Linked DNA regions of Homo sapiens: region 1 is linked to region 2. The links are contacts of gene promoters, found by promoter capture Hi-C in blood cells and fetal thymus (Javierre and others, 2016). All regions are on one chromosome and are shown on one strand. Each heading gives the region's core, a stretch centred on a gene start or on the middle of the fragment in contact. The rest is flanking DNA. Distances are from core to core; before and after follow the strand shown. Region 1 has its middle 4.8 kb from the start of MIR1321. Region 2 holds the start of DACH2 (dachshund family transcription factor 2).

Region 1 (3,933 bases), core at 1,240-3,739, 310 kb after region 2:
TTCTTTTTTTTTTCTTTATTATTATTATTATTATTATTATACTTTAAGTTTTAGGGTACATGTGCACAATGTGCAGGTTAGTTACATATGTATACATGTGCCATGCTGGTGCGCTGCACCCACTAACTCGTCATCTAGCATTAGGTATATCTCCCAATGCTATCCCTCCCCCCTCCCCCCACCCCACAACAGTCCCCAGAGTGTGATGTTCCCCTTCCTGTGTCCATGTGTTCTCATTGTTCAATTCCCACCTATGAGTGAGAATATGCGGTGTTTGGTTTTTGTTGTTGCGATAGTTTACTGAGAATGATGATTTCCAATTTCATCCATGTCCCTACAAAGGACATGAACTCATCATTTTTTATGGCTGCATAGTATTTCAATATTTGGTTGCTTTATGTTGTTCCATATGCCACATAGGCTTTCTTTATTCTTTTTTAAAATTATTTTTCCTCTTTTTTGCCTGATTGGGTTATTTCAAAAGACCTGCCTTCAAGTTTAAAAATTCCTTCTTTTGCTTGATCTAGTCTATTGTTGAAACTCAGTTATATGTTTTATTTCATTTCACCCATTGAATTCCTCAGCTCCAAGACTTCTGTTTGATTCTTTTTTATGATAGTTATCTGTGTTGAATTTCTCATTTAGATTATAAATCTTTTTTTTCTGATTTCTTTGTATTGTTTATCTGTGTTCTTTTGCATCTCACTGAGCTTCTCTAATATCATTTTGCATTTTTTCAGGCATTTTATGGATTTCTTTTTCAGTGGAATCTATTGCGGGAGAATTATGTTCTTTGGAGGTGTCATAGTTCCTTGTTTTTTCATGTTTCTTGTGTTCTTATGTTGATATTTGCATGTCTGATGTAGCAGTCACTTATTTTATGGATAGGATTTTGTAGGTAAAGACTGTTTCTTATAAATTTATCTATAGTTCTGGTTGGATTGGGTGATTTTCCATTGATTCTGGGTGCACGCTTTTCTGTAGTCTCTGTATGATTTATTTGACTGCAATCAGCATAAATGGTGTCTGTGAGTTCTTCAGTGGCTTAGGCTGAAGTTGTTAGTGGAGGATGTGGTAGGGCCTTACTGGAGACAGGGATGTCAGATGGGCTGATCCTTGGGCCCTAGTGGTGGCAGCAGTGGGCCAAACATGCCAGTCATTGGGCCCCCATGAAAGTGTGTGTGAGATCTGGTGGTAGTGGGTCAAGGCAGGTTGATCCTTGGGCCTCCAGGTATCTTGTTCATGTTCCAGCAGTGGAGTGGTAACAGTAAGTCAAGTGTGTCTTTGGGTCCCTGGATGGTGTGTAGCAATTGACAATGGTGGCAGTAGCTGTGGCAGGCCAGCTCTTGGCCCTTCATGTGGTATGCACAGACATCAGCAGTGGCAGCTGCAAACTGGGTGGGCCAATCCCCAGGTTACCAGGTGGTTTATGCAAGTAGGTGCTGGCAGTGGTGGTGGTAGCAGGACAGGTGGGCACATCCTCAGACCTCCAGGAAGAGTTTCTGGATACCACTGGCAGCAGGTGAGGCAATCCAATCCCCAGAACCCCCAAAGACATATATGGGCACTAGAGGAGGTGGTGCCAGGGAGAGCTAGCCTGTCCTCAGGCTCCTGATGGTGCACACGGATGCAGGCTGTGGCAGGTGTGGCTGGTTGATCTCCAGGCTCTCAGCTGGTGTGCATAGGCACCAGCAGGCTGGAATGGCTTGTCCTCAGGTTTCTGAAACATGTGGGTGGACACTGATGGCATTGAGCTAGTGGGTTGATCCCCAGGCCCCTTGTCCACATGCGTGGGCACTCATGGGTGTGATGCTGGGCTGTTAGCTGTAACTCTTAGCAAATCATTTCAATCTTTCTAGTTATCAGTTTCCTTGCCTGTTAAACAAGAATAATGATAGTACCTACTTCATAGGATGTTTGTAAGAGTCAATATGTCAAAATCCATGTGAAGCACTCAGCAAAGCACCTGACATGTAGAATAGAACTCAAGAAAAGATAGCATTACTGTTTGCATGATTAAGGACAGAGCCAGGATTAGGAGCCAGGTTTTCTAATTACCAGGCCACTCTTCTCTCCACCATGACTGTAACAGCAGATGTGCTGGAGAATTTTTAGTGAACTTGAACCGAGATGTTTAGTATAATCAGACTAGAGTCCTTCTCATTACTTGGTGTTAGTGGTTTTAGATACTTAAACCTGCAAGTTGAAAAGTGACATCTATAAGAGTACATTCAAAGAGGCAATGAAGTCTAAATATTCAGGTTTAATCCCAAGAGAAATGGCCCATCTCTTATCCCCAAGTGACACTTTATCAAACAAACTTTCCAAATACCTGAAATTTGGTCATGAGACACAGGAAATTTAGGAGGTGTGTGAAATTCAAGCTTTTATTGTGAGAAAAGCATCTGTTATGGATTCCATCACTATATTTATTAACAGGCTTTTTGCCCATATTCTAATAGTGATTAGTGCTATACAGGCTGAAATGGAAATACTATAAATCTCTGTGGCAAATGGGACTTGTCTTGAAAAAAAAAAAGATCCAAGCAGTTGCAGTGGCTACCAGCATGGGAGGTCTAATCAAAGGAAGCTTGTGTCAGAGCTACTTGACTGGTAATTCTCTTTGTGGTTTAAAAAAATTACTTGGATGTATAACAAAAATGTGCTGTGTATATGAATAGAGTTTTGTAAAAAGAGTCATTAACTTGCTTCTCTCTTCATGTTGCGGTCCAGATCCAAATAACATTTTCCAGGTATTCTCTAGAAGGGCCTCAACCTGTGCATGGAAGGTCCTCTGAAAATTTTCTCAGTTCCATTACAGTGATAGGCACTCTTTCCTTATTTCTCCTTCATCTGAATGATTAATGTTGATGTTACGTACACAAATGATAATGCTTTTATAGCAGTAACAATAATACCTTTAAAAAGCATTGAAAGAATTCAGATTTATGTATATGTATGGTATTTGGGAAAGTGCCTGGAATATAGTATGCACTATAAGTTATTGTTAAATAAATAAAATAGGCAATTAATGTCATGAAAAAAATCCACAGTGTATGGTTAAACAAAAAAGCAAGTTATGAAAGTAGCATGTATGTGGGATCCCACGTTGTGTAAAAGAGAGCTAGAGATATCTACGTGCATATATGTATGTGTGTGTACACAGAAGGGTAACAATAGTTAGCTTTGAATTGAGGGAATTTGTGAACAGTCTTTTTTCTTTCTACTTTTGAATTTTCTACATTTTTTGAAATATTCCTTTACCACCATTTATAATATAACTTCTTCCCAGATGTAAAACTGATGTTTGGTGTGTTCTTTCAGATATTTTTCTCCACTTATGCATGTGTATACAAACACACACACACACACACACACACACACACACACTGAGTATAAGGGTATAGGGTCTTTTTAAATGTTTTCTAAAAACATAAGTTGGCTCACATCATAGTTCTGTAATTGGCTTATTTCAACAACTATATCTTAGACATCATAAAATATAGCACATAAAAATGTTCGTCCCTCTTATTTATTGCTGCGTACCATTCCATGGTATGAAATCTATTTATCCAACAATTATTAATGAATATTTGGTTGTTTTCAGTTTTATTGTTCTTTTAAGTAATGATTCAACAAACATCTCATACTTATATCTCTGTTCACATGCATATCTCTGGTAGATAGAGTCTTAGTGGTTGAATTACTGGTTTAAAGGGTATGTACACTTTACATTTTGATAGACTGCCAAATGGTACTTTAAAAAAGCTGATTTCCACTCACTGATACTAGATATTATTACTTTTTAAATGTCTGCCAATCTAATGAGCTAAAAAATATGGTATCATATTGTTATACTATGCATTTCCCTCCTTATACATCGAAACATATGTTCAATGCCAATTTTCAGTTACCTCTTCTATGATTTCTCAG
Region 2 (3,878 bases), core at 571-3,070:
CAACAAAATCCTTTGCTCCTTTTAACCACGTGATGGTGATTTTTGTGCCAAATCTGTGCTTTCCTGAGATGTTACCAAACTGGAGATGGAATAAACACTAGAAGACTAATTCACAGGCGTTTAAAAAGTCAGATAATCTTGAGTATACTTTTTTTCTTTTTAAACTCAGAAACATTGAACACAATTTGCTTCTCATATACAAATGGACATTTATTCACTAGTGTACTTCTAAACTGTGATATGAAGGAGGTACACTTACAACCAGGGAAGCTGGCCATCATCATTTAAGGAATCCTGTCTTTAAGGGAATGGGATCCTTCCAACTGTTCGCCTGGAAGAGCTGAGAGCATCCTCTCTAGAAATCTGCCAACTTGTACACCAACCTCCAATCCAGTCCCAGCCACAGTGGTTCATGCCCCACATTGCCCTCTGCAGATAACCCAAAACGGACGATCCCAGGAAAGTGATATTTGTCGTCGTCCTTTTGTAAAAATAGTATCCATCGACTTTCCTGTATCGTGTACTGGGGAGCTTTGCGCAGCAAGCATGAGCATACGTTCTCACGCGCACTTGCACACATACACACCAACACCACCACAAACAACAACACCACACACCCCACACATTCTCACAACAAACACACGGGATGGGGATCGAATCACCCTCTGGGATGGATTCTAGACTTCCCACCCCCTGCATGCCCCAAATGCTGTGTTCTGGCTTGCCAGCTTAGGAGCCCAGTTTACAGCTCAGCCAGCCCCCAGAGAAAGCCCTTGGTATCCGTGTTCAGAAGAAAACCTATCCGACCCGTGCGGCCACAAAAGAGCAGGAAAGAAAACCAAATAGAGAAATTAACAAATAACCACGAACAGCCAAAAGCCATGCAAGATATGGGCAAAAGGCTGGAAAGTTTCAATAGAGGACTGCAAACTCAAGTTTGCGGGACTTTTTTAGACCGAAGCCCTTGCACTGAGCGTGGACTAGAAGGCACCAGCATTAATGAAAGCTTCTAGTCCTCTTTCCCCACCGATTTACAGCGTGAAGAATAGAGGCAAACTAGTTAAGACTCACTCTACAAACAAAGTTGGATGAGGGTGGTGAGGCATGCAGAAGAGGCCAAAGGGGTAAGAGAAGTGGGAGAGCCAAGAAACGAGTGTCTCACCTGGCATTGGTGCAATCGGTGAACAAAGTTTCGAAGTCTTTCCTGGTGATGAGTTTGCAGCGGTTTACCCCGGGCTGGATGGCCCCCAGCCCGCGGAGGATCCGGACCTGCTCAACAGTACACACCACGGGGGATATATCCAGTCTCTTCAGCTTGGTGTACACAGTGTGCAAGCCTCCCACCAGGTGCTTGAGAAAAAGATCAAAGACTTGCGGCAGGCAGATCAGTTCCTGGCCGTCCATCAGGAACGAAGCCACCTTCATCCCGTGCATGTCGACCATGCGGCACTCGTTGGTGTTGGTGTTGCCCCTGCCGCCGCCTCCGGCACTGTTGCTGTGGTTATTAACCACGAAACTATTGATCATATTAGGAGTAAGACGAGGGGGCTCTCTGGGAGTCGAGTACAGGGGTTCGGCCCGGAATAAGCCCCCCGGGACGCCGGCGCCGCTGGAAGTTGCAGAGATCACTGGAGATGCGGAGACAGCCATGGTCACTCTGTCTCTATCGTGGGTCCTCCGGCCCTCGCTTTCTCGCCCTGACTCCTCTAGATCCCCTCGCACTCACTCCCTCACTCTCGCTCTCTCTGGCGCGCTCTCGCTGGCTCCGAACTGTTCGCAAGTCTTCAGCAGCCGGCTCACGCTCAAGCTCAACAAACAGTGAGCAGCCCCGACCCGCTGCGGCCCCAGACCCCACCCCCACCACACCCCCTCCGGAGACTGGCAGCGTCCCACAGCCAATGGGCCCCAGCCCTTCTGCGCCCGAGCGCTCCGAATGGCTGCCGCTGGTGAGGAGGTGGAGACTCCCTGGCCGGCGTCCGACTACCTGAGTGGGTCCAGGCTCGACCAAGAACAGAGATCCAGTCCGAGAAGGGGGCGGTGTGGTGCCTCTGCTTCTTGCCTCTCTGCCAGACGAGAGAACTCCCAGATGTCACGCAGAGTTCTCAAAGTGGCCTATGCTGTGAACCCATCCGCTCCGCGCTCCGCTGGTGTCGGGGTGGAAACGCAAAGCGCGACTCCTGAACGTGCCTCCCCATGCCCCTTCCGCCACCTTACACCGGGTTAGATCGTGGAAAGTGAGGTGGCAGCTCCAATTCCACTTGCGCATCTCTCCCAAACTCTGCGGGGGCTAATAGATGGCTTCGCCTAGCTTCCGGGAGAAAGACGCTAGCGAGTTCAGAAGTAAACAGCTCAGCCCTTTAGCCCACCTAAGTGCGCTTGGTGTAAATTTTCCCCTACCCAGCGCGCAGAGGAACAAGCGTCCGAGATCATACTCAGATCAGAGTTCTGGTTGCTAACTCGCACTGACATTCAGGAAGCGTAGTGAGCCTGTGAACACTTTGGGAAACAGAGAGACTTGCTCTGTGGGTGGCAGATGGACACCTCATTTTATGGCACTTCCGCCACTGTCCTGGAAGAGACTTGTCTGTGTCCCCGTCCCTTAGTGTCGAGATTGCCCTGGCCCTACTCCCCGCTAAAATTGATAGGAAATGTTTGTTTAGGACTCAAAACAGTCATCACGGAATATGAGGAAAGGGCGAGGGTTTGCATTCTTGAACGTGCATTTTCCTTCCTCTTCCATTGGCTTTGAAGGTCCAGTGATTGGAGCTCCAGTCCTAAACAAGATTCCACTTCCCCCACTCATCAAGCGTCCCAAACGTACTAAGAGCTTATAGAACAAAATGTCTAAGCAGGGTACATTCCAGGGAAAAGGAATGGTCTTTTCCACACAGCATATGGTGGTTAGATCGCCTTAGCAAAGTTGTTTTTGTTTGTTTTGAGACAGATTCTCACTCTGTCGCCCAGACTAGAGTGCAGTGGCACAGTCTCGGCTCACTGCAGCCTCCGCCTCCGGGGATCAAGCGATTCTCCTGCCTCGGCCGAGTAACTGGGACAACAGGTGCGCGCCACCATGCCTGGCTAATTTATGTATACATATACATATATATATACACACATATACATATATATACATATATATACACACATATACATACTTTTTTTTTTTTTTGTAGAGACAGGGTTTCACCATATTGGCCAGGCTGGTCTCGAACTCCTGACCTCGTGATCCGCCCTCCTCGGCCTCCCAAAGTTCTGGGATTACAGGCGTGAGCCACCGCTCCTGGCCTAGCAAAGTTGTTTTAAGACTCCTTGTCAAGCTATTCATTCTCTAAAACCAAGATATTTCCTTTCCTGTGCTCCTCTTCTCTGGAGGCTGTTAGTTATTCATAAAGTGAAATCCAGGTTTCGTTTCTTTACAAAACGTTACCAACTACATGGCTTATGGTAACTTCTCTGATATTCTTCTAAAATATAAATAATGTTGGAAACTTACTGAATTTTATTCAGCCCTAGTTGTACTTAGCAGGATCAACGAGAAATGTGTGGGTTCTTTTTGCTCCCTTATTTAGTTACAGATACCCTAAATTGGATTTTTCTGCCTCTTTCTACAACATATTTTCTTCTTTTCTCATTTCATCAACCAGGTTTAAGAACTGCCCTTTGAATCTCTTCATACTGTTTCAATTTCAAATTGTACAGGGTTAAAATGCTAAGAAGTTGTGATGATCATTGCTTTCAAAATGCAGTGATATGACTCTAACATAATAGATTGGGATATAGGCAGCCACGAGACATTTTTAAAAGGCATCAAAATGTTTTTGCTACATCGATACTGTTGTGGGAAGAAAGTAATAAGGGGCAAAAAAAGGACAATTGAG

The links. Contacts are between HindIII fragments. The CHiCAGO score rates a contact against its expected background, and 5 or more counts as called.
Region 1: a fragment that was not itself captured here is called in contact with the fragment with the promoter of DACH2 in region 2 in 2 of 17 cell types (total B cells and activated CD4 T cells); the score reaches 6.2 in total B cells.

Annotation. Positions count from the first base shown.
Region 1 is chrX:85,838,634-85,842,566 of GRCh38, reverse strand. No RefSeq gene overlaps it. Among named protein-coding and RNA genes, the nearest start is that of MIR1321, 4.8 kb to the right of the region's middle. The HindIII fragment of the contact is 206 bases long and covers 2,387-2,592 here.
Region 2 is chrX:86,146,393-86,150,270 of GRCh38, reverse strand. It overlaps DACH2 (dachshund family transcription factor 2), which reads right to left and starts at 1,820. Exons shown (of 12, transcript NM_053281.3): 1 at 1,163-1,820. The coding sequence starts at 1,650. The HindIII fragment of the contact is 4,799 bases long and covers 1,009-3,878 here.